5 separate regions of the Homo sapiens genome follow, and all the other regions are linked to region 5. Evidence: promoter capture Hi-C in 16 types of primary human blood cells and fetal thymus (Javierre and others, 2016). All regions are on one chromosome and are shown on one strand. Each heading gives the region's core, a stretch centred on a gene start or on the middle of the fragment in contact. The rest is flanking DNA. Distances are from core to core; before and after follow the strand shown. Region 1 holds the start of SCFD1 (sec1 family domain containing 1). Region 2 overlaps HECTD1 (HECT domain E3 ubiquitin protein ligase 1). Region 3 holds the start of HEATR5A (HEAT repeat containing 5A). Region 4 holds the start of TRAPPC6B (trafficking protein particle complex subunit 6B). Region 5 holds the start of SPTSSA (serine palmitoyltransferase small subunit A).

Region 1 (3,611 bases), core at 77-2,576, 3.8 Mb before region 5:
AGCCAGTGTTTCACACTATAAAACAATATATAATCGTTAGGCTAACCATTTCATTTATATAATTGTGAAAGTTAAGCTTTTGAGGTACAGAGTGATTTCATTTCAGAATTTGGTGCAACTTCATAATGAAGCGTCATCAATGAACTCGGGAAATGAGGTGTCATTGTGTATCCATTTTGGTCATACAGTAAAATCTATGGATTAAGTTAGAAATCATCTATCCCATATATTTTGCGGTCACGTGGCTTCAAGTGTACATTAAACCGCCAGCACAAGACCAGCCTGGCCAACATGGTGAATCCCCGTCTCTACAAAAAAAAAAAAAAAAAATTTAGCCGGGCGTGGTGACCCCTGCCTATAGTCCCAACTAGTGGGCAGTCTGAGGTGGAAGGATAGTTTGGGAGGATCGCTTGAGTCCGGGAGGTCGAGACTACAGTGAGCCGAGATTCTGCCACTGCACTCCAGCCTGAGCGACAGACAGTGAGATACTATCTCAAAAACAAAACAACAACAAAAACCAGCACATCAGCCTGGCCTGATGGTGTGCCCCTGTAGTCCCTAGCTACTTGGGAGACTGAAGCAGGAGGATCGTTTGACCGTCAGAATTTGAGGCTGCAGTGATCCCTGATTGCGCGCTCCAGCCTAGGCAACACACCCCACTACTGCTTGACTTCCTTCCCACGGCAAGGTGATTTTGCAATTACTACAAGGAAAGAGGAGAAATGCTAATTTCTCATTTTGTACCTCCCTGGATCCCGTGTCCATGCCGGCAGAACGCCACCATAAAGCTACACCTTTTTTTTTAAAGAGATGCGACTGAGAAATATGCCAGATCAGAGTAATGCTCCAATGCTTTCCGTTTCTCTGGAGAAAGGAGCAAAGGGAAGACTCCTGCTGCACTGAGAAACGAGAGCTAACGTTAAAATGTTGCCTGTGTTTCAGGAGCTTCATTTACTTCAGTCCTGTGGTCCTTATACTCCTAGAGCATTATCACCCTTTAAGTGCTCTGTAAGTCACCAAACCAACAGTTCAGTAATTAGGTTCTTAGCACTACACGCTCCTACCCTAACAGCTCAATTTAATGTTGCTACCATTTGAGAGAGTGTGGCTTGATTCGGTAGGATAAAAACTCTTAGTATTCGCCTAACATTACGGGCCACTGAATTAACCTGCACCGGGTCTCCCAGTTCTACCGAGAGTGGAGGTCTTCCTGGAGGAGGTGGGGTCCGGAACTCAGGCACACCCTTTGGCCCCGCCCTTCCGGGCTTTGCTTCCGGGGCGGTAAGGGCAGCCACGTCATCCCCCCGCTCCGCTCCCCAGCCGGGCAGTGGCTCGTGGGAGCCAAGATGGCGGCGGCGGCGGCAGCGACAGCAGCAGCAGCAGCCAGTATTCGGGAAAGGCAGACAGGTACTGACTTATTCTCTTCTCCTTGAAGCTTCGTGACTGCCCCGACGACATCCTTCTCCTCTGGTGCGTGCAGCTCAGAGACCGATCTCCAGGAGTTTAATCCAGTCCCTAGAACATCAAGAGCCCCTCCCCTTTGAGTTTTTGGGGAGAAGTTGCCATTAGCTTGAGGACTCGGTTCCTCCTGTGGTGCAGGAGAAGGAGCTTCAGCGGTGGGCGGATTGCTACGGCCCTGCTCTTGTCTCCTTCCTAGTGGGCATCAGAAGGCCATCACAACAAGATCTAGCAGCTGATAGCTTCTTATCTATGTTGCCACCTATGAGGTCTCCGAGTTTCTGTGCGTGGTTCAGTTCTCCTGGTTTTGATTTTTAAGAGAACTCCCATTTTCTGACACTCAGAGAATTTAGGTATTTTCACAGCGGCTTGCTTTGCGCCACTTCTCTACTTCGGACCAGTCTTTTGGGGGTACCTGCAGAAAAATGCCTGGTGATAAACATTTTCTCCTTCAGCTTGCTGGAAGGCATTGAAGAATGGCAAAACAAATGAATTAATAGCTTTCTCATTTTAATTGTTTGACACATTGTTTTAAAATAATATTTTATCTTCAATAGAGCATGTTTATATAGCTTCTATTTATGCAGAGAAATGTAAAAAGGCACATATTCTTCTCTTGAGTTTTGGGTTTTTTTCCGTCTTAGAAATTAGTTTTGCCTTACTTGAAAACTTCTCATGACAACTTGGTTTATACCTGTTAGCTACAAACTAAAGGTTTATACTTGTTAACTAGTTGTCTTAAAAGTTTTCAAGCAATTTATTCTGAGGAGCTAATAGAAATAAGGCATCAAGAATGTGCATACTTGGAATTCTGTTTCCTGAAATTATGCTCTGTTGGATATAAATATGAATAGGAAAATAAATTTATAATTCATATGACCTACAGAAGGGATTTGGGCTGTACTTGATTCCTTCCTTTGGCATTTAAAGAAAAAGTGATAGACTTCAATTTAGTAATGACACACAAAAGATACTGAGTTGCGTTCTGCTTTTCCCAGTAAATAATTTAGTATAACCTATCAGGTGAAGTCAGGCATAACTAAATATAGGGAAGTTCAAATAAGATTTGGGGCATACCTGCCATTCGTTGTATATGTTTAAACAAATGGAAGCTCCATTTGTTTTAATACTGTGTTTCTGATGACTATACTACATATTAAAATAACGTGTCAGTAAAACTGTACCAATACAAGAGAGCTTTTTGAAAAATAAATTTGCGTGGCCGTAAACTTGTATGCAGAAATTTTGTAGATCATTAAAATCTAATCGTTTGTATTTCTGCAGAAATAAACATAGTAAGATTTTACAGAATTACTAGGTAGTGCTAGATCTATTTTTTATCAAATTTTTACTGTCATTGAATTCTGCCTTATTTTCAGAGGAAGGTAAATCCTTGTATATATATTATAATGCAGAATTAGCTATTTCCCTCATGCCTATGGAGAATGTTTTGGGAGATAACTCACAGTCCTTAAATATTCTAGATACTAGAATATTTGGGTGGATGAGATAATAGTTGGCATTTATTGAGCATTTACTATTGTTAGGCATTGCATTAGGTGATTATGTATTATCTCCATTTTACAGGTGAGGAAAGTAAGATAGAGGTAAACTAACGTGCCTGTTTCTTGCTTTGCCTGCCTGAAAAATCTTTATTGGTCTCCTGAAAAATCTTTATTGATCTTTTGAAGGTCATCCCACAAGCCATCTCCTTTCTTCCTGGTTCACTGTCCCCTCTATCCATACCTTCAGTTCAATAGGTAGAATCAGTTGCCTCCTGCTCCGTGTTACTGTTGTTCTTCATTGAATGCGTCTTCGTTACAGGTTCTTGCACATCTTCCCAGCTTCTCAACATTGCAGGGTCCCATTAGTGTTCTCATCTAGCGCCTTAGCTTTCAGTATTATCTGTATGTTGATGATTCCCAGGTTTATATCCCTAGTCTGGCCGTCCCATCTGAACTCAGTCTACTCCATATCAGTTAATGGCAGTTCCGTCCTTTTAGTTGTTCAGGTCAAAAACCTTGAAGTTTTCTTGACTTGTCTCTTTCATGTCTCATGTAAGATCTTTCAGTAAATCTTGTCAGTTCTACTCTGAAAATACATCCAGGATCTGACTGTTGTCATTGCTATTCCGAGGTCCTGTCCACCATGAA
Region 2 (3,570 bases), core at 445-2,944, 3.3 Mb before region 5:
GGTTACATGACTCATAGCAATGTACAATAATAAAAAGCTAACTTCCCCGTATGTAATTTAAACAAATTTAAGAAAAAGTTAACTATCATTCATAGAATAATCACAGCCCTCCCTGAATAATGCTAAAATGATACTTCTAGGCACAAAATTTTATATATAATTACAGTTGCTCAAAATTTTAAGCTTGCCAAGTATTTACCTCTTACATTACAGGTAGAAATTCTTCTTTTTTATTATCTTAACGTGAGTACTATATTATTAATATAATACCAATAGATTAGGAAGCCTATTTAGGAAACTTTAGGATCAATCAGTCTATACAGAACTCCTGTCAGAGTAGTCAACCACACAAGTGAGATTATGAAGAATCTTCAGATGACTCCAAATTAGGCACTGGTTTCCAAAATGCTACCTGTAAAGACATCAGAATCTTTCCCTGATGGAAGCAATAAAAAAAGGTTACATGAGGTTCCAAAGAGAAAGAATTTCCCTGGGAACTGTAATATTTTCTGTATTATAACTACCATATGCTTTTTTCACTTGAACTTGGGCCAAGATTTCAGAAGATTGGCAAAGACATGAAAGAATATAACTGTTTTTAAAAAAAATAAAGGGCATTATCTGTAGTAGAGATATTTTATAAAATAGTCTGTAAATCAGGCACTTCATTTTAAAAAAATGAAATATTTTAACTGAAAAACCTGAACACATCTGGTTTCTTAAAGACAATAAATAACGCAACATCTTTTGATCCATTTCATATTCCATTTTTGCCTCTGCTCCCAGCCTTGACTTTCTTGGTATTGCTGAGCTAAAAATAACTCCTGGTACAGCAGCTGAAAATTGTGGTTTTCCCTTGCAAAGAAAAAGGGGGTAAAGTCCAATTATAAGATGTAAGTTTGCTTTTCTCCAATTAAAATACACATACAAATTTGACTGCAATTCATTCAACACATCTATTGAATGCCTTTCTACACCAAGTGCTATGCTAAGTGTTGGGGGTGGGACACAAAGATGAGTAAGAAAGAGTTCACTGACTCTGAAGAATTCAATCTAATGATACAGTCAAGAACTATGCAAAGTACACTTACAAAGCGTTATAAAACACAATGTCATACCCATAAATAAAAATGATAAAAATCTATCTCTGATAAATTTTCCTTGTATTTTTCCTGTTGAAACTATTAAGAGTGGTTTTTAACTTTTTTTTTTTTTGAGACAAGGTCTCACTCTGTAGCCCAGGCTGCAGCACAGTGGTGCAATTTCGGCTCACTGCAACCTCCGCCTCCCAGGGTCAAGCAATTCTCCTGCCTCAGACTCCCAAGTAGCTGAGATTACAGGCGCATGCCACCAGACCTCTGCTAATTTTTGTATTTTTAGTAGAGATGGGGTTTCACCATATTGGCCAGACTGGTCTCAAACTCGCGACATCAGGTGATCCACCCGCCCTGGCCTCCCATAGTGCTGGGATTACAGGCATGAGCCACCAGTGGAGCCTGGCCTCTACATTTTTTTAGCTGACAGAAACTCTGGTAATCGTCACAAAAGCTCCCTGAATTTAATCACCTATGGACCCCCTGGAGTCCCAGGTAAACCCTCACAGACAGTGTTTCTCATTCCAGCACTTCTCTCTGCTGTCCACTGAAAAGAAGCACATACACAGTTGCTGTCTGTTTACAGGAATTCATTTAACTTTTTTTTTTTTTTTGAGACGGAGTCTCACTCTGTCTCCCAGGCTGGAGTGTGGTAGTGCAATCTGGGCTCACTGCAACCTACACCTCCCGAGTTCAAGCGATTCTCGTGCCTCAGCCTCCTGAGAAGCTGGGATTACAGGAATGTGCCACCACACCCTGCTAATTTTTCTATTTTTAGTAGGGAGGGGGTTTCTTCGCCATGTTGGCCAGGTTGGACTTGTACTCCGGAATTTAAGTCATCCACCTGACTCAGCCTCCCAAAGTATCGGGATTACAAGCATGAGCCACCGTGTTCAGCTCATTTATTTAACTCTTGAGGATTATACATATTTGATATATCAATGAACATTCCTTCTCCAGTAAAGGGTCAGGGCTGATCAACAAAAGTAATTCATTTCCCTATTACTCTGCCATTGGGTAGAAGAAAACAGGTCAATATAGAAAAGGCAGGTACAGGTCGGGCGCAGTGGCTCACACCTGTAATCCCAGCACTTTGGGAGGCCGAGGCGGGAGGATCACGAGGTCAGGAGTTCGAGACCAGCCTGGCCTATATGGTGAAACCCTGTCTCTACTAAAAAATACAAAAATTGGCTGGGCATGGTGGTGTGCGCCTGTAGTCCCAGCTACTCAGAAGGCTAAGGCAGAAGCATTGCTTGAACCCGGGAGGCAGAGGTTACAGTGAGCCGAGATTGCGCCACTGCACTCCAGCCTACACGACAGAGCAAGACTCCGTCTCAAAACAAAAAAAAAAAAAAGAAAGAAAAGGCAGGTATATTAATGGTAGAAAGTAAGGAAAGTACTTATTGATACTGTATCTGCTAAAAAAAAAAACAAAAAAGAATACAATACTCTTCCTCCTGCATACTAACAACAAGTTTCTCAACTCCACAAATACCTTCCATGGGCATTTTAGGCATTAGGTGGAAAACAGGTCCAATATAAGCAATCTCTTCAATTCACTCCTTCAGTATCTGGATATTAGCTATTTGTGTGCCAGGCACTATGCTTAGCAATGGGAAAACAAAGACGAGCTCGTAGTCCAGTGGAGAACTGAAAGTATAGTAAAGTGGAAGTAGTGTATACATGTGAGAATATGCAGGAGGGGTCTTTGAAGACATTTAAATTTGATCCTGTAGGTGAAGAACCCAACAGATTCTGTAAAAGGGAGTAGCACAGGCAAATCAATTTTTAAGACTATAACTCAGGGCCAGGCACCGTGGCTGGTCTCGAACTCCTGACCTCAACTGATCCACCCACCTCGGCCTCCCAAAGTGCTGGGACTGCAGATAGGCATGAGCCACCACGCCCAGTCCCAGCCCTTAACTTTTTACCATCAAACCCAAAACATGTGCATCTAACGTCTCTATCTTCTCTGTTACAACGGCAGTACACAACTTCTTTCTGCCTAAAACCAATCTCTCCACCAGTGGATCAGGGTTTTGCTACTCAAGGTGGGATTTTCTGACCAACAGTTTCTGCATAATCTAGGACCATATTAGAAATGCAGAATATCAAGCTTCATATAAGACCAACTGAATCAGAATATGCATTTTAACATGATCCCCAGGTGACTCTCATTATGCACATTAAAATTTAAGAAGCACTGCTTCTATACAAAAGCCAATTCTCTCCCAGTTTTTCAGAATCCTTACCCTAGGGATTATTCACTCTCTTTCTTATCTCTTTGACCTTTAAAAGAAAAAACCCCACACTCCTTTTCCAATTCAATTCTTCAAAAAAGTTTCCACATGTCCTCCATTTCATGTTCCACTCACTCCTCAACCCATTCAGATCTGCCCCTCACCACCACTCCACTCAGCTCTCATTAAGATCAATGACCTTGAGAATGTTGCTAAATCTAAAGGACATCTTTTCA
Region 3 (3,644 bases), core at 104-2,603, 3.0 Mb before region 5:
ATTCCAAGGCACAACAAATCCATACTACAGTATTCTCCAACTGTCACTATTCTTATATTATAAATCCTGCCTGCTTATCAGTGAAGAAAAAAAAAAAGTCAATGGCATTAAAATGTAACACAAATCTCGGCTTCGATACTTTATCTAAAATTACTTTCTCAAAGACATACTTTCTAAAATGTTTGGAAAATTAAACAAAATTCTCCTCTCCCCATCCAACTAATGCTCAATTCTAACCACACTTCTGCTTTCCCTACAGCTTAAGTAATTTCACTGGGAGTATTTTCTCTGGAAGTTCTTAAGTGTACTTGTGGGCCCCTTTTTTTCCTCCTTAAACTTCTAATATCTTTCAGGCTGTAAATTCCTTAAGGGCGCCTAGCCCCAAAAAAGTGCTGCATATTTGTTCAATAAATGAATGCACATAAAAACAATGGATAACTATGACCTTTAATGTAGGAGCTCAAGCCATTTTATTATTATCTGACTTGACAGTCAAGAAAATTATCCCAACTTGCCAGAGGTATCCATTACTGTGATAAATAAACACTATAAAACGCTTTATAAAGTTTCTAAAGACTTTATAATCACTTGAAATAACGCCGCGTTGGCCGAGAGTAGGGTGAAAGAAAATGTTTCCTCACACTAAGCAAATGCCACCAAAGGAAAAGCTTTCTTTCCTGGAGAGAACTGCAACAGTTAGAAAGCAAATATCCACACTCTCCACTGCTCCCTTCTGGGAACTCTCTTTGAGGGTTCCTGCAGAAAACGAACGGGCCTCTGAGGAAGCTCGCCCGAAGGCCGGGCCGGGGCCCGGCTCCTGGCTGACCACTGGCGCAGCGGACGCCGCAGGGCGGGTCCCGGGAGCGGCGAGTTGGCGAGGCGGGCTCCGACTTGCTGACCTTCCCCACACGCCCGGCAACCCCGGCTCCCGCTGGCGGGCAGAGTCCACGCCTACCTGTTGTGCACAGGTGAAGCCAGACTTTCCCGTAGTCCAGGAGGAAGAACGGACCACGCTGTTTATCAGCCGACCCTGTGCCCCAGTCAGCCCCTTCTCGGCGGACTCCAGCCCTTAGGGTCAAGACACCTAGCCCCTCGACCGGTTCTCCCACCGGCTTCTTTCGCGATCACATTGCTGCCGCGACCACCCTCGGGATCCCCGAGCGCTCAACTCATACAGCGGCCCTGGTGCGTTCTCCTTCCCAGCCAACAGGCAGCCCAGACACAGCCCCCTCGCGCCCGGAGGTGTCCCCGCTCCCTGGATCCCCGACTGCCTGCCTTTGGGGGTCCTCCTCAGCTGAGCGTGCGTCCCGGTCCAGCAACGTTACCGGCTGCTCTGCTAACCCTAGCAGAGTCTGGAATTGCCGGCGGCGGCGACAGCGAGGCATTGAGGTGGGCGGGGCGCGCGTGGGGCGTGGCCGGAAAGCTCTCAGCGGCGAGCACCGCGGGAGCTAGCGATTGGGAGCGCGCCCTGCGCCGGGCCGCTGGTCCAAGGCCCCGCCAGCTGGCCGCCGAGCCATCGAGCGCCCACTCTGGCAGGCGTGACTGCTTCACCGTCGAAAGAGCGATGGAGACTGCGGCCCAAGTTAGGATTAGGACAGCGGTTTTTCAGTCCGGAGATTCCGGCCACAACTATTTTTGTCTGTTTTTATCGTAAGCCAGAGTCTTTGGGTGCAGCTCTGGGACACCTAAAGGGCCTGGAGAAATTCAGGCGGGGCCAGTGCTGTGGGGGTAGATGTTAGACGTGGAAGGGACCCTAGAGAGCCTTGACTGTGAGGACTGAGGTAAAGTGACTTGCTCAAGGTCACATACTAAGTCAATGGCAGAACTGAGACTAATAGCCTCTTACCTTGAGTCATGTGCGTTTTCCCACTACACTCAGCGTTTTAAATGTCATTTTTCAAGTTTCATTTTGAATCTATCTCCAGCTTACAAAAAGGTTGCAAGTATAGTACAAAGAACTTTTTTTCCCTGAATTGAGATTTAAATTGCTGACACCATGCCACATTGTCCCTAAGCACCTTCTACATAATCACAATATAACCATCAAAATCAAAACATTTACATAACTCGGCGTTTTACCAATTGTCCCAATAATATTGTTTATGGTAAAAGATTCCGTTCAGAATCAGGCATTGTATTTACTTATCATGTATCTTTCCTACTCTTCAAACTGGAACTCTCAGTCTTGCCTTGCCTTTCATATTCTTGACGCTGTTAAAGATTCCTGGCCAGTTATTTTTGTAGAATGGCCTTCATTTTGGGTCTGTCTGATATTTACTCATGATTACATTTAGCTAGGTATGACAGGACTCTAGAAGTGTTGCTGCTTTCTTCTCATGGCACCCTATCAGGTGGCACGATTTTAACTTCTCTCATTACAGATGTTTACTTTAATAAGGTGATGTCTGTTAGGCTTGTCCAGTGTGGTTACTTTTTTCCCCCCTTTGTAAATTAATAAGTATTTTGTGAGGGAGACTCTGAAACTCTCCTTTCAAGATATTTGTAAATATCTTGTTTCTCATCAAATCTTCAGTTAATGTATTTATATTAATTAGTATGGATCCAGAGGTTTCTATTTTGTTAAATGACTTATAATCCGTTTCTTTCTCTCTTTTCTCTCTCTCTTTTTTTTTTTTTTTTTCTTGAGACAGGGCCTCCTTTGTTGCCCAGGCCGGAGTGCAGTGGCTATTCACAGGTCGATAATGCAATCATGGTGCACACTACAGCCTTGAACTTCTGGGCTCATGTGATCCTTCTGCCTCAGCCTCCCAGGTAAGTAGCTGAGACTGCAGGCATGCACACCACCACACCAGCCAATATTCTGTCTCTATCATTATTTATTTTGATGCTCAATTATCCCAAGTTTGGTGGGTAGGGGCCCCATTCATTCTATCTTCTGTGATATGTGTGTGTGTGTGTGTGTGTGTGTGTGTGTGTGTGTTCAATTTTTTTTTAAGACAAGAAGACAAGGTCTCATATTCATTCTAGCTTCTGTGTTGTGTGTGTGTGTGTGTGTGTGTAATTTTTTTTTTTTTGAGACAAGAAGACAAGGTCTCACTCTGTCACCCAGGCTGGAGTGCAGTAGTCTGATCACAGCTCACTGCAGGCTCAACCTCCTAGGCTCAGGTGATTCTCCCACCTCAGCCACTCAAGTAGCAGGGACAATGGGTGTGCCACTGTGCCTGGCTAATTTTGTTTGTTTGTTTTTGTTTTTGTAGAGACAGGGTTTCACCATTTTGCCCAGGCTGGTCTCGAACTCCTGGGCCCAAGCGATCCACCCGCCTCAGCCTCCCAAAGTGCTGGGATTACAGGTGTGACCCACTGTACCCAGCCTTAAATTCTCTCTCTCTTTTTTTTTTTTTTTTTTGAGACGGAGTCTCGCTCTGTCACCCAGGCTGGAGTGCAGTGGTGTGATCTTGGCTCACTGCAGCCTCCGCCTCCCGGGTTCAAGCAATTCACTGGCCTCAGCTCCTGAGTAGCTGGGATTACAGGCGTGTGCCACCATACCTGGCAAATTTTTGTATTTTTAGTAGAGACGGGGTTTCACTGTGTTGCTCAGGCTGGTCTCAAACTCCTGACCTCATGATCAGCCCGCCTCGGCCTCCCAAAGTGCTGAGATTACAGGCATGAGCCACCGCGCCTGG
Region 4 (3,680 bases), core at 35-2,534, 4.7 Mb after region 5:
TCTTTCATACCTCTACCACTTTATCTTTGCCTAGGATACATTTCCTATCCCCACTCTCCACTCATTTTTTATCAATAGCATTAAAGAAAGGGCTCCTGACTTGAGCATGACTTTGGAGTATTTCTAAAATCCGTTACAACTCCATGATTCTACCAGCCAATACTCAGTGTTAACTATTCATTAAATCACTATTCCCTAAATACTGTGAGGCAGGAGTATTATTTTATTTAATTTATCTAGCAGTGTCAGCAGTGACAGGCCCACAATGATTGAATAAGGACTCCCACATATTAGAAGTAACCGCTACATACTATCACATTTCGGATTAAATTAGATTAAAAAAAAATCTCTACAAGGATGGGGCCATTGTTTCATTCACTACTATATCCCTGGCACCTAGAAATCGCTCTGACATAAGGGCACTAAATAAATACTTTCTGAAATAATTAATTTAAATTATGTTCCCTAATTATCCTAACGCCTGCAAACTTTCCTTTGCAAACTCAACCTTCATTAGGCTTCAGGTCTCAAGTTGTGTGGAGTTGTACTGAGCATTAGGAATGAGGAAGGAGGGACAGGCTTCTCAGGTTGGCACAGGTCTGTCCAGTGCATGGCTCAAGTGCTGGAAGTGCCAGCAAAACTAAGTAGGCTCTGCAGTTAACCCTCTCGTAAATAATGGCAGGGACAACACTAAAAGTACCAAAATCTGTGGCGTGCAAGACAAACGTACGGGAATAGACAAAAGAGAATCAAATAGAAGAAGATACGAAAGAGAAAACGATGAAAGATGACGGTTCAAAGGAGACAACTGACAGGTTCTAGGGTTTAGGACACCTGGAGGTGGACCATTTTGTGTACACCTCGGGAGGCGTCGGGTGGCGATGGGACAGGGGTTGAAGGAAAGCACTGAGGGGAAACAAGGTGTGTCACCGCAAAAGGACCTCAAGGTTGTGTGGCAGCACTCACCACCTCCCCCTGCTCCGCGGACTTGTACACTCCAGACACCATCTCGTTATGGAGAAGCAAAAACAACGCCTCATCCGCCATTTCCTGCTAATTCTTCCAAGCTTCGAGTTTTGGCTCCCGTTTGAGCTGGTCTGGGGGTTCCAGCTCGCGCCTCAGCGACTTCGCCGGCGCCGCGGCTCCGTCAGGCCGCCATTCTATCCCTGTGGCTAAGAGACCGAGGTATTCACACGACTTCCCAAAGGCTGGTACTGAAATGAGTCTGGTACTGGAGAGAGCCCACACTTCGGGGCTACCAAATCCTAGGGCCGAACTAAAGTCTGACGGGAGCTCTAACCAAAGCCAACCAGCTGAGATGCGATCCGGCCGCTGGGCGGGGGCGAAAAAAACAACTTCCGGTCCCCTCTACCCCGGCATTCGGCCAGCTCTATGATCACTGAGTTCCTCTCTCCCAAGCCCGGAGAGGCCAGCGCCCAGATATGAGGAAGGTTCCCCTCTCACCACGATGTCGGGGGCAGAGCAAGATAAAATAAGACCTAAAGCTCCCGCCTGGCCCGGGCGCGGTGGCTCACGCCTGTAATCCCAGCACTTTGGGTGGCGGAGGCGGGTGGATCACATGAGGTCGGAAGTTCGAACCAGCCTGAGAAACCCCGTCTCTACTATAAGTACAAAATTAGCGGGGCCTGGTGGTGCATGCCTGTAATCCCAGCTACTCGGGAGTCTGAGGCAGGAGAATCGCTTGAACTCGGGAGGCGGAGGTTGCGGTGAGCTGAGATCGCGCCACTGCACTCCAGCCTGGGCAACAAGAGTGAAACTCCGTCTCAAAAAAAAAAAAAAAAAAAGAGCTCCCGCGGCCACCTCCTTGTTAATTAGCAATAGAAGTTAAAAAAATTCTTTTGGCTTCATCAAAAGCATCCACTTCCTGCCATATGTTCTTCAAATATGAAAAGTTGTAGAAAGAGTTTAAAATATACGTTTTCACAGTGCAAATTTTTTAAATATTGAAAAGTTATCCCAATTCCTATTGAATTAAGCCCGGGTATACAAAAAGAATTAGAGCCATTTTGACCACCAGGAATTTTCCTGTTAGTGGGGTGCAAGGGACAAGGGAAGTGGAGCAAACGAAAAACAAGATACACTTGAACCGGAAAATACAGACTAATCAGAGGATTAGGTGAAAAGTGCTATAGAATTCAGAAAAGCGATGTCACTGCAGGATGGAGTTGCTAATAATCTACAGCAGTGTGAGACAACTGTAGGAATTGTCCCACTGCATGTGCAAATAAATACACATGCTACATCATAGTATGTACATCTTAAATTTGGCAAATTCAACCGTAAGCATGTTGCTTAGCCTGTGATTAGTTCTTCCATTGGTAATTCACAAAACAAAATTTTTCCCCAATTGTCCCTGTTGTTTTCCCCCAAATTAACATACCGCAAGGTGGCTCATGCCTGTAAAATCCAGCACTTTGGGAGGCCGAGGCACGGGGGGTGGGGGGGATCACGAGGTCATGAGTTTTGAGAGCAGCCTGGCCAACATGGTGAAAACCCGTCTCCACTAAAAATACAAAAATTAGCCGGGCGTGGTGACAGGTGCCTGTAATCCCAGCTACTCGGGGGGCTGAGGCAGGAGAATCACTTGAACCTGGGAGGCAGAGGTTGCAGCGAGCAGAAATTGTGCCACTGCACTCCAGCCTGGGCGACAGAGCAAGACTTCGTCTCAAAAAACGAAACACACACACAAACTCTTCATGCCCTTTCACAGGAATTTAAGATCATGTTCCAAAATTTTAATTGTGGTAGGTTTTTTTTTTAAGCATGTCCCTTCTAATGTTTGAATCAGTTTATTCCATTCATCACGTAAATCCAGCATAAAAGCTCCACTTAAGCCTTTGAAAACACTAAATTGTGTAATTTTGAAGAGTATTTTGCCATGGTAATCTTAATTTTTCCAGCACTAAATTTTCAGTTATGCGAAATCAGGTCCTTTATGTCTAGATGACATTCTTGCCCTCATCACTACCATCAAGAAAAAGGAGTCCAAGTCCACCACACAAGTCAAAAAGTAAGTAAATGGCCAATTTATCAAAGTTGACTTCTCCAACCACAATAACATGAGGCTTTTAAAGTACGTTTCTGGATAGAAAGGAAACTTATTTAATGAGGACCTACTAACTATTGAACACAGCATCCTACTTATCCTTCTCCATAAAGTTAAATTGCCAAGGCTCCTAGGAATAGATCCTATGGAAGCAAGGACAGTGAGTGTGGTGTGTGTGTGTGTGTGTTTTGAGACAGAGTTTTGCTCTTGTTGCCCAGGCTGGAGTGCAATGGCACTATCTCAGCTCACTGCAACCCCGCCTCCCGGGTTCAAGTGATTCTCCTGCCTCAGCTTCCCGAGTAGGTGGGATTACAGGCATGCACCACCAAGCCCAGCTCATTTTGTATTTTTAGTAGAGACGGGGTTTCTCCATGTTGGTCAGGCTGATCTCGAACTCGTGACCTCAGGTGATCCGCCTGCCTCGGCCTCCCAAAGTGCTGGGATTACAGACTTGAGCCACTGTGCCCAGCTGTGTGTGTTTTGTTTTGTTTGAGACAGAGTCTCACTGTTGCCCAGGCCAGAGTGCAGTGGCATGATCTTGGCTCACTGCATGCAACCTCCACCTCCCGGGCTCAAGCAATTCTGCCTCAGCCTTCCAAGCAGCTGACACTAC
Region 5 (3,466 bases), core at 545-3,044:
TTATTTCTCCATCCCCCAAAAAAGGCATCACCTAGTTATTTATAGGACACTATCACTATTGCAACATAACAGAAAAATCTTAACATCATTGATAACTGTAGCATTTTAGTGTGTAAAATCTATATTAGATTTTAGGTGTCAAATCTATACTAGATTCTAATAGTGCACTCTACATTCAACCTCTGATTTAAAGAGTTTCATTTTAACCCAGCATTGTTTAAATTAATTTTAGGATGTGTTATGTCAGTCAAGATATACTTGCTTCTACTGAGAGACTTCTATTAAATATGCATTCAAGTATATATTTTACAAGGCATGACCTTGCGAGCCCTAAAGAGTGAGACTAAACTGCAGCTACAAATAAATGGTGCAGGAAATCAAAGCAAACTATATTCAGAGTCTAAATCCAAAATATGCATTCTGGTTCTTAAATTCCAGGTTTGGAAAGAAATGCCAACAGTAATAAATAAATAAACTGCTTTGAAAGCATCTCAAATTCCTCAAAAGTGCTTAAACAAAAGACTCAGCTTTGAGTACAACCTTAAGCTATCTCAAAACAAATAAACACACTTGATAAGGCTTAGAATGAAATTACCTCAGTCACTCACTGGAATGCAACAATGCATTCGCAAAGTTATTCTGAAGTAAGCTACTCCAACTAAACCACACTGAAAAGGAGAGAACGTGGATAAACTAAACATGTTTTGTGAAATACCTGTTTTGTATTGGCCTGAGTTTTTTAAAAGTTACATCTCATTCATTATCAGTATTTAATCTGCAAGAATATCATCAAAGGATGTCAATATGGACAAGCAGAGACAAGAAACATCAGACTTTCAGGGAGCCTATCTTCACAACCCTGAGTTATTAACTGAAGTTCTCAAAGTTAGATGAGTTAAGATACAGACAACGTGCTTTGCACAAATGCTTTGCTTATAGTAACCACTCAATAGTCATTAACAAGAATTTATTAACTATCCACCAAAACACAGTTTCAAACCCTACCGACAACTAACCACAAATTGCACCACTTTTCGGGCCGACTTCTACGGACGGTGCACAGAAGCAATAAATACACTTTTAAAACTCCCCAACTTGAAGACCAAAAAGATACAATAACTTAAACTGCTTTCAAAAACTACTGGAGTGTCATGCCTACAAATTCAGAACCTGGCTTAAAAGCTAGTTAACTGACTAGAATTCTTGGTAGACCCAAAGCCAACTAAATCAGGAACACTTAAAGGTCAAAGGCGTCCAAGCCGGGAGCGATGTGCTCCACTGTTACATGATCCCCGCCTCCTACAGGAACAGGGGACTGAACCAAAGGCAGTTGCGGCCGAAGTGCAGGCGACACACAGGGTTACACATCACCTTCGGAGATTTCCTCCAGGAATCAAGACGCTTCCCCCTTGGGTCCAGCGACTCACAGGTGACCCCGGATCTCAAGAGTTCTCGTCTCCCCCACCCCCCACTTAACCCCGCGAGCGCCGCCCTCGGCCCCCAGACCTCCCCCTGCACCCCCGGCTTCCGCGCACAGGACCGGCGGGGCCGCCGCTCCAGCCTCCACCCCAGGCCCGGGGCCTGGGGAAATGCGGCCCCGCGGCCCGCGCCCCCAGCCCGGCCCCCGCGCGCGCGGCCGGGACAGGATACTGAACACCGTCCGCTCCCAGGGCTCCAGCATGTAGAGCGCCGTGACCAGCAGGTACTGGTAGTAGAACCAGGACATCTGCTTCCAGGCCCGCGCCAGCGCCATCCCCGCCATGCGCCTCCCGCGATGCAGCTCACACGTCAGTCTGTCCGGCCGGCCGCCCGCTCACGTCCTAAAGCCCCCGGCCGCCAGGCCCGCCCGCCCGCCACCCAGCGCCCATTGGCCCGCCCGGCCCCGCCGTCACCCGCGGCACGCCCAGACCCGCGCGCGCCCCGGCCGCCGGCCCCCAGCCCCGCCCGACCCGCGCTCATTGGCCAGGCCGCTACCTCGCGTCGCGTCGTCCCCTCCCGTTTCCCCGCCCGGGCATCGCCCACGCTAGCCGGAGAACGGTCCCCGCGAGAGCGCCCAGCCGCGCCCCACCCCGCCCGGGCCGGCCGGTGGTGGGCGGGGCGTCAGTGCCGGCCGGGGTCCCGGGGCCCCCGCAGCCCAGCGGGCGCTCGGTCCGTCCAGACTGGCCCAGAGCGCTTGCGGAAGAAATATTTCTGGAACACTTGTTATGCCTCAGGCATCCTTCTGAGAAGGAGGATTGCCAGGGAGAACCGGAATGCCTTCGGTTCCTTACCTTGTGCAGCTGGCGGCCTAGCTGGGAGACAAGCATTAATCAAGTCGTGATCCGTGTAAGAGGAGATAAGGGGCTGAGAGAGGGTGAGGAGGCGAACGCCACCTAATAAGGAGGTCTGGAAAGGCGTCCTTGTAGAAGGGATGCACATTCGGCCTCCTTCCTCCCTTCCCCCACCCATGCACACACACACACACACACACACACACACACACACACACACACACACCCCTAGACGGACATAACCCATGCACTCCCTAACCCAGAGACCACTTACCAAAAACATCTATCTGCCCACCTCTTAGTGGCTGTAGGTAACCACCAAGTGGGTCAAGGCCAGAAGCGCGCTGATCTAGTGGGTTCTGCAGAAGACAGGCAGCTTGAGATTGGTGTGAGGGCTGGTGATACTTCCCTAGAGATGCACTCCTGGATGCCCAGATTTTCCCACTGCCAGATGGGCCAGCAACATTGCACTGGCCACAAGGAGCTCCATGCACTGGTGTAGCATGTGAACTGCCACAATTAAATGGCCTGCTGTTTAAATGTTAAAAGTCTTCCAGGTTAAACATACTACTGCTTAAACTTTAAAAGTTTCATGGTTAATAACTATTCATTAAAAGTACCAAGTGCCGGCCAAGCGCCGTAGCTCATGCCTGTAATCCAAGCACTTTGGGAGGCTGAGGCTGGCGGATCACTTGAGTCCAGAAGGTCGAGACCAGCCTGAGCAACATGGTGAAACCCCGTCTCTACCAAAAAAAATAAGTAAATACATAACAAAAAGTTAGCCAGGGGTGGTGGCGTGCACCTGTAGTCCCAGCTACTCAGGAGGTTGAGGCGGGAGGATTGCTCGAGCACGGGAGGTCGAGGTTGCAGTGAGCCAGGATGGTGCCACTGCACTCCATCTTAGGTGGCAGAGCAAAAGAAAGGAAAGAAAGGAGACAGAGAAAGAGAGGAGAAAACAGAAGAGAAGAGAAGAAAAGAAAGAAAACAGTAAGTAATATCAAGTGCCAGACATTGGGATAGCAAGCCAGATAGACTGAGACCTGCCTTCATAAAGTACCCAGTCTGCTGGGGAAGAGAGGCAAGTTAATGGATTACAGTGAGGTGTGGTAAATGATATTTTTGTGGATCGTATCCTTTAGGATACCAAGATAGCCCAGACAAAATCAGATTGGGCTTGTGAAAGTCTTCTGAGAAAT

The links. The method cuts DNA at HindIII sites, captures the fragments that hold promoters and counts their contacts. A CHiCAGO score of 5 or more calls a contact.
Region 1: a contact is called between the fragment with the promoter of SCFD1 here and the fragment with the promoter of SPTSSA in region 5, in 1 of 17 cell types (M1 macrophages). The highest score is 7.4, in M1 macrophages.
Region 2: a contact is called between a fragment that was not itself captured here and the fragment with the promoter of SPTSSA in region 5, in 2 of 17 cell types (total B cells and naive B cells). The highest score is 6.1, in total B cells.
Region 3: the fragment with the promoter of HEATR5A here is called in contact with the fragment with the promoter of SPTSSA in region 5 in 1 of 17 cell types (M1 macrophages); the score reaches 5.3 in M1 macrophages.
Region 4: the fragment with the promoter of TRAPPC6B here is called in contact with the fragment with the promoter of SPTSSA in region 5 in 2 of 17 cell types (monocytes and naive B cells); the score reaches 12.0 in monocytes.

Annotation. Positions count from the first base shown.
Region 1 is chr14:30,620,993-30,624,603 of GRCh38, forward strand. SCFD1 (sec1 family domain containing 1) reads left to right here and starts at 1,327. Exons shown (of 25, transcript NM_016106.4): 1 at 1,327-1,407. The coding sequence starts at 1,347. RefSeq lists enhancers at 661-1,860, 930-1,609. The HindIII fragment of the contact is 1,359 bases long and covers 75-1,433 here.
Region 2 is chr14:31,194,324-31,197,893 of GRCh38, forward strand. All of the region lies in intron 2 of HECTD1 (HECT domain E3 ubiquitin protein ligase 1), which reads right to left. Among named protein-coding and RNA genes, the nearest start is that of HECTD1, 12 kb to the right of the region's middle. The HindIII fragment of the contact is 3,027 bases long and covers 182-3,208 here.
Region 3 is chr14:31,419,197-31,422,840 of GRCh38, forward strand. It overlaps HEATR5A (HEAT repeat containing 5A), which reads right to left and starts at 1,354. Exons shown (of 36, transcript NM_015473.4): 1 at 1,276-1,354. It overlaps HEATR5A-DT (HEATR5A divergent transcript), which reads left to right and starts at 1,562. Exons shown (of 4, transcript NR_110045.1): 1 at 1,562-1,781; 2 at 2,648-2,772. RefSeq lists a silencer at 815-934 and enhancers at 1,045-1,094, 1,525-1,674. The HindIII fragment of the contact is 6,619 bases long and covers 667-3,644 here.
Region 4 is chr14:39,169,049-39,172,728 of GRCh38, forward strand. It overlaps TRAPPC6B (trafficking protein particle complex subunit 6B), which reads right to left and starts at 1,285. Exons shown (of 6, transcript NM_001079537.2): 1 at 967-1,285. The coding sequence starts at 1,047. RefSeq lists enhancers at 743-1,332, 1,092-1,141, 1,923-2,512. The HindIII fragment of the contact is 6,900 bases long and covers 1,066-3,680 here.
Region 5 is chr14:34,460,446-34,463,911 of GRCh38, forward strand. SPTSSA (serine palmitoyltransferase small subunit A) reads right to left here and starts at 1,795. Exons shown (of 2, transcript NM_138288.4): 1 at 1,651-1,795. The coding sequence starts at 1,762. RefSeq lists enhancers at 1,008-1,117, 1,658-2,608 and silencers at 1,518-1,687, 1,808-2,317. The HindIII fragment of the contact is 5,560 bases long and covers 1-3,466 here.